2 separate regions of the Homo sapiens genome follow, and region 2 is linked to region 1. Evidence: promoter capture Hi-C in human tissues and cell types (Jung and others, 2019). All regions are on one chromosome and are shown on one strand. The core of a region is centred on a gene start or on the middle of the fragment in contact, and the rest is flanking DNA. Distances in the headings are between cores, read along the strand shown.

Region 1 (2,935 bases), core at 264-2,763:
ATTTCAAAATGCTATTGGATTCCTGGATTTTGTTTAGTTTGTTAAACAAAAACACGTAAAATTTCCTGACACTTGTAAGACTGGTTTATCCTTCAGGTACTTAGCTTTCGTTTTGTTTTTCCTTAACATAGAAGGAATCTGGATGAGAACAATTGGTAGAGCCTTAATGAACTTGAAAGAGAACTGAAGGCATTGGCATTTTTCCAGACTGAGTGATTGCTTTCACAGGAAACGCTGCCTCCTGAAGGAAGGGCGTGCCCCGCTCCTGGCTGCCTGCCTCGTGGTGGTCAATTCGCTGCCCTGTACCTGTTGATGCGCAAGAAAGTGGCTGGAAGGAAACTGCTGCCGGTGTGCTCAGTGGACTCGAAACGGAAGACAACGAGCAGAGGAGAGAAAGTTACTTTTTCCTGCCGGGCTGCGTGTTTAACCAATTTGTCTAAGAAAAGAAGGATGGAGGGCCGGGCGCGGTGGCTCACGCCTGTAATCCCAGCACTTTGGGAGGCCGAGGCGGGCGGATTTGGCTAACACAGTGAAACCCCGTGACTACTAAAAATACAAAAAATTAGCCGGGCGTGGTGGCAGGAGCCTGTACTCCCAGCTACTCGGGAGGCTGAGGCAGGAGAATCGCTTGAACCAGGAAGGCGGAGCTTGCAGTGAGCCGAGATCGCGCCACTACACTCCAGCCTGGGCGACAGAGAGAGACTCCGTTTCAAAAAAAAAAAAAAAAAAAAAAAGAAGAGAAGAAAAGAAGGACGGGGGTGGGGAGGGAATCAGGGAGTGGGGAGAATGGCGCTCCCCTTCACGCAGCTGGTGTGGCTGGGAGTTGGCTTGGAAGTTTACACACTTGAGCTCTATCGATTCCGAAACTTCCCGATACATCGTGAGGTGTGGGCAGGAGGGAGACGCGCCAGGCAGCAGCCAACGGGGTGGAGTCCCCGGGCCCAGCCTCCTGCGGGAGGGGGCTCTGCTGCCTCCAGGCCCGGGTCGCTCCTGCCTGGCCCCGGGGACCCCGTTCTTCCTCCGACTCCGACGACGGGCTCCTCCTGCCCGGACATGCCCCGCCACAAGTGACCCGGGCCAGGCACCCCCGCCGCGTCCCCCTCTCTCTCTGCCCCCTCCCGGTGCCAGGCGCGCTTTTCCCCAGGCAGGACCGCGGTGGGGACTCACCTGCAGCAGGACCCCGACGACGACAAACTTGAAGGTCTTGTGGACCCGGAGCCGAGGGCTGGCTTCCCGCGCCGGCCTGGGTCCTGGGGCGCGCCCTGCCCGGGCCCGGGCACTGGGTCCGTGCTGTCCCATGGAGGTAGGGAGCGCTCCTCGGCCCCCGCCTCGTGGTTCAATCCTCCCCGCGGAAGAGCCCCACACTTTGCTGGGTGTGGCCGCGGCTGCCTCTGTCCCACTCGCTGCGCTCCCGGGATTCGGAGTCACTGCCAGGAACGCACCTAGATGTACTCTAGCTGGTGGTGGCGCCATCCTGCCAGGTCAATCCAAGAAGCAGCGTGCTTGGCTATGACAAGACAGAACTTCGCATTCGGAGTTCAGGGCACCCCTGACCCCGCCCCCTTTTCGGGGCACCTGCGGCTCCTGTTGGCTAACCCTGAACTTCCTTCCTCTGTGACCGCCCTTGCCGCTCTCAGCTTCTGTTCCTCAACCACGGCCGCCGCGTGGATGCCGCTGCATTCGGAGTCGTTTTGCCACTTGGTCCCAGCGCCAGGCTTCTCGGTCGGGAGTTGACCTCAGCCTTTCTGTGACCCAGTTCCTGGCACCCAGCAGGCGCTCGGTGGACGGATGGGTGGCGGAATGAAGGACACAGAGGCCACTGCGGGGTCTGGCCTCTAAGAGGCTTTTACGGCCTCCTCCGTCACTACCGGGCGAGTGATTCAGCCTGCCTTTTTTTTTTTTTTTTTTTTTTGAGATGGAGTCAAGCTCTGTCGCCCAGGCTGGAGTGCAGTGGCACGATCTCGGCTCACTGCAACCTCCGCCTCCCAGGTTCAAGCGATTTTCCTGCCTCAGCCTCCTGAGTAACTGGGATTACAGGTGCCCGCCACCACGTCCGGCTAATTTTTTTTCTATTTTTAGTAGAGACGGGGGTTTCACTGTTTTGGCCAGGCTGGTCTCGAGCTCCTGATCTCGTGATCCGCCCGCTTCGGCCTTACAAAGTGCTGGGATTACAAGCGTGAGCCACCGTGCCCGGCTCATCCTGCTTTTGGTTTCAGGTCTCCATGCCAGTGAAATGTCACCTCAACTCCACCGTCCCTGGTGTCAGGCAAGCCCGAGGGACCCAATTCTGCCTTTCTTCTGGATTTTCCTAACCTGTTAAGAGTCTTGAAAGTCCTTAAACCACGGGAGACTATCTGGCACATGACACGGGATGAGACTTGGTGGGGGTCCCACGGGGGACAGGTCCTTCCAGCGGTTCCTCTGCACCCAGCGCTGCACGGGCATGGGGCGTGGGTAATCAGCCTCCCGAAAGCCACGCGAGTCACGGTCCTGCCTGCGAAGAACTCCCAGGGCGACCTTGGGGCTGAGGAGTGGGTAAGAGAAAGGGGGCGCTGATTGATGTTCATTTTTCTCCATATTTTAATGGTGTTCCGGTACCATTTGTTGAAAAGACTCTTTTCGACCGGGCGCGGTGGCTCACGCCTGTAATCCCAGCACTTTGGGAGGCCGAGGCGGGCGGATCACCTGAGGTCAGGAGTTCGAGACCAGCCTGACCGACATGGAGAAACGCAGCCTCTACTAAAAATACAAAATTAGCGGGGCGTGGTGGCGGATGCCTGTAATCCCAGCCACTCGGGAGACTGAGGCAGGAGAATCGCTTGAACCCGGGAGGCAGAGGCTGCGGGGAGCCGAGATGGAGCCATTGCGCTCCAGCCTGGGCCACAAGAGGGAAACTCCGTCTCAAAAAAAAAAAAAAAAAAGACTTTTTTTCCTT
Region 2 (2,935 bases), core at 208-2,707, 150 kb after region 1:
AAGCACATCTGCATCCTCAAGCTTACCTATGCCTCACAAGAACCTTGGGGAGTAGAAGAGGCAGGTATTATTAGGATTCTTATTTTACAACAAAATCAAGAACCAGAGAGGGTTAGAGATTTTGCCAGAGTTGCACAGTTACTGCAAGCAAAGCCAGAATGGGTCACTCCCAATGTGCCATCCCATATAAAAAGTCCTGGTTCAGCTTGGATACAAAAGCCTTTATGTGTGGCACGTGCCTACCTTCCCTGCTTCGGTTCCCACGACGGTGTCTCCCTTCTCTCACCCCAGCCCTGCCCATGGCACACATCCCATCATATCAGCCTATACCAGCTTCAGCTTTTGACACCTAGAACAACGCGCCTCCATCCCCTCCCCTCCCCTCCAAATGGCACCTGGTGCAATCCTTCCTGTTCTTCACAGAGACCTTCCTAGGTCCTCCTATCAGATTGAATGTATTTCTGCTTCCCTTTGACATCACATTTTGCTGGTGCTTTACATTGTTGTCATGTCTGGCTCTGCCACCGGACCCTCAGGCCCAAGGGACAGAAACCACCTCTTTGTCATTTCTGCTCAGCAACACATCTGCCTCTGGATGTATCAGGCTACCTTGCAGTAGATAAAGCTACCTGCCAAGAACAACTAGAAAAGGAAGGTAAAATATTAAAAACATATGTTCGAAGACACGAGAAAGCTACCGAGGCACCAAGGACTGAAGGAACCAAGAATCCAGAGAGATGGGAAGGGCATTGAGGTGAGGCTCACTTTTGTCTCTGCTTTCCCCCGGAAGATACTCGCCAATTCCACGGCAGTGATCAACAGGCTGAGAAGCTAAGCAAAGCTGCAGGCAGCCTCCAGGGACTGGGGAGACCGGGAGTTCAGAACCTGCCAAGGACAAAGGGACCTGTTAAACAGCTCCAGGCTCTCAGATGCATTCCTGAAGAGCTGCACTCTAGAAGCCAGGGCATAGGAAGGTCTGACATTCCCATAAATGGAATCCCAAAGAAGAGGAGAGAAAGGATGTGCAGAGGAAATAATGGAAGAAATAATGGCCTAGAATTTTCCAGAATGACAAAAGACATCAAGCCCACACAGTATAGTTTACAAGGAAAACCACATCTGGGCACATCGAAATCCAACTGCAGAGAAGACAAGATAGAAAGAAAAATCTTAAACACAGGGTAGAGGAGCTGAGTTACCTTAGAAAGAGCAGCAGAAAGACTAACAGCTGGTCCCCTCAACACAAATAAGGAGACAAGACTTCAACAGCGCAACATTTTCAAAGGGCGGAAAAAAATAAGTCTGCCTAGAATCTGTGCCCAGTGAAGAGAACGAAGGTAAAATAAGGACATCCCAGATAAACAAAAGAGGAGCGAGTCTGTCACCAGAATACCCACAAGACGGAAATACTACAGGGAATTCTTCAGGCAAAAGGAAAAATCATCCCAGATGTCAGTAAGGAGGCGTAGGAAGGAATGAAGAGTATGAAGTAGGAAATGATGTAGGTAAATCTCAATGAAGATCGAGTGTGTAAAACAGGAAGAATGTCCTGTGGGGTTTAAAATACATGTATGATTAAAATGCATGGCAACTGGCTGGGTGCAGTGGCTCACGCCTGTAATCCCAGCACTTTGGGAGGCTGAGGCGGGCGGATCACAAGGTCAGGAGATCAAGCCCATCCCGGCTAACACGGTGAAACCCCGTCTCTACTAAAAATACAAAAAATTAGCCGGGCATGGTGGCGGGCACCTGTAGTCCCAGCTACTCGGGAGGCTGAGGCAGGAGAATGGCGTGAACCCAGGAGGTGGAGGTTGCAGTGAGCCGAGGTCACGCCACTGCACTCCAGCCTGGGCGAAAGAGTGAGAGTCTGTCTCAAAAAAAAAAAAAAAAAAAAAAAAAAAAAAAAAATGCATGGCAAGCGCAGCACGAAAGGCAGGAAGGCATTAAATGGAGCTCAAGTGGTTTGAGGTTCTTGTGTTGTCTGGGAAGTGGTAAAAGTACTATTGTCTATTAGACTTTAGCAAGTCTAATAAATGCATGTTGTAATCTTTATAGGAATCATTGTAAGAACCATATACTGAAAGAAAAGTACAACTAACAGGTTAATAAGGGGGTTTGGGGGAGAAATGGTAGAATTAAAAAATACTTGATTAATCCAAAATTGAAGCAATAAAACAAATAAAAAGTAACATAAAACAATTGTTACAAATAGAAAAAATATTAGATGGTGGGTTTAAACTCCAATATATCAGTAATTACATTAGATAAAATAAATACTCCAATTAAAAGACAAAGATCATCAGAACGAATATAACAAAACAATTCAGCTTTACATTTCTTTTTCTTTTTTTTTTTTGAGATGGAGTCTTGCTCTGTTGCCCAGGCTGGAGTGTGCAGTGGCGCGATCTCAGCTCACTGCAACCACTGCCTCCTGGGTTCAAGCGATTCTCCTGCCTTAGCCCCTCGAGTAGCTGGGATTCCAGGCATGTACCACCACGCCTGGCCAATTTTTGTATTTTGAGTAGAGATGGGGTTTCACCATGTTGGCCAGGCTGGTCTCAAACCCCTGACCTCAAGTGATCCATCCGCCTCAGCCTCCCAAAGTGCTGGGATTACAGGTGTGAGCCACCACGCCCAGCCCAATCCAGCTTTATATTTCTTAGAAGAGACACAGAGGCTTAATGTAAAAGGATGGAAACAGATATACCATGCGTACATTAACCAGAGGGAAACTTGTACGATCAAGCTGACCTTAACACAAGAAACATTACCAGAGACAAAAAGGGACAGTTTACGATAATGAAAGTCAATCCACCAGGATAATGTAACTCTTCTAAACGTACGTGCATAGCTTCAATATATATAAAAGAAATATTGATAGAACTAAAAGGAAAAAATAGACAAATTCATAATCAGAGTGGGAGATTTTTACACA

The links. Contacts are between HindIII fragments. The study calls those that stand out against the background at their distance.
Region 2: a fragment that was not itself captured here is called in contact with the fragment with the promoter of TNFRSF10A in region 1 in 1 of the 25 tissues and cell types used here (aorta).

The regions. Positions count from the first base shown.
Region 1 is chr8:23,223,589-23,226,523 of GRCh38, forward strand. TNFRSF10A (TNF receptor superfamily member 10a) reads right to left here and starts at 1,514. Exons shown (of 10, transcript NM_003844.4): 1 at 1,168-1,514. The coding sequence starts at 1,473. TNFRSF10A-DT (TNFRSF10A divergent transcript) reads left to right here and starts at 1,633. Exons shown (of 3, transcript NR_033928.1): 1 at 1,633-2,535. RefSeq lists promoters at 1,006-2,042, 1,471-2,935, 1,471-2,124, a cis regulatory region at 1,006-1,085, silencers at 1,107-1,356, 1,524-1,715 and an enhancer at 1,767-1,906. The HindIII fragment of the contact is 7,664 bases long and covers 1-2,935 here.
Region 2 is chr8:23,369,878-23,372,812 of GRCh38, forward strand. The region is part of intron 1 of LOXL2 (lysyl oxidase like 2); the gene reads right to left. Among named protein-coding and RNA genes, the nearest start is that of LOXL2, 33 kb to the right of the region's middle. The HindIII fragment of the contact is 3,539 bases long and covers 1-2,935 here.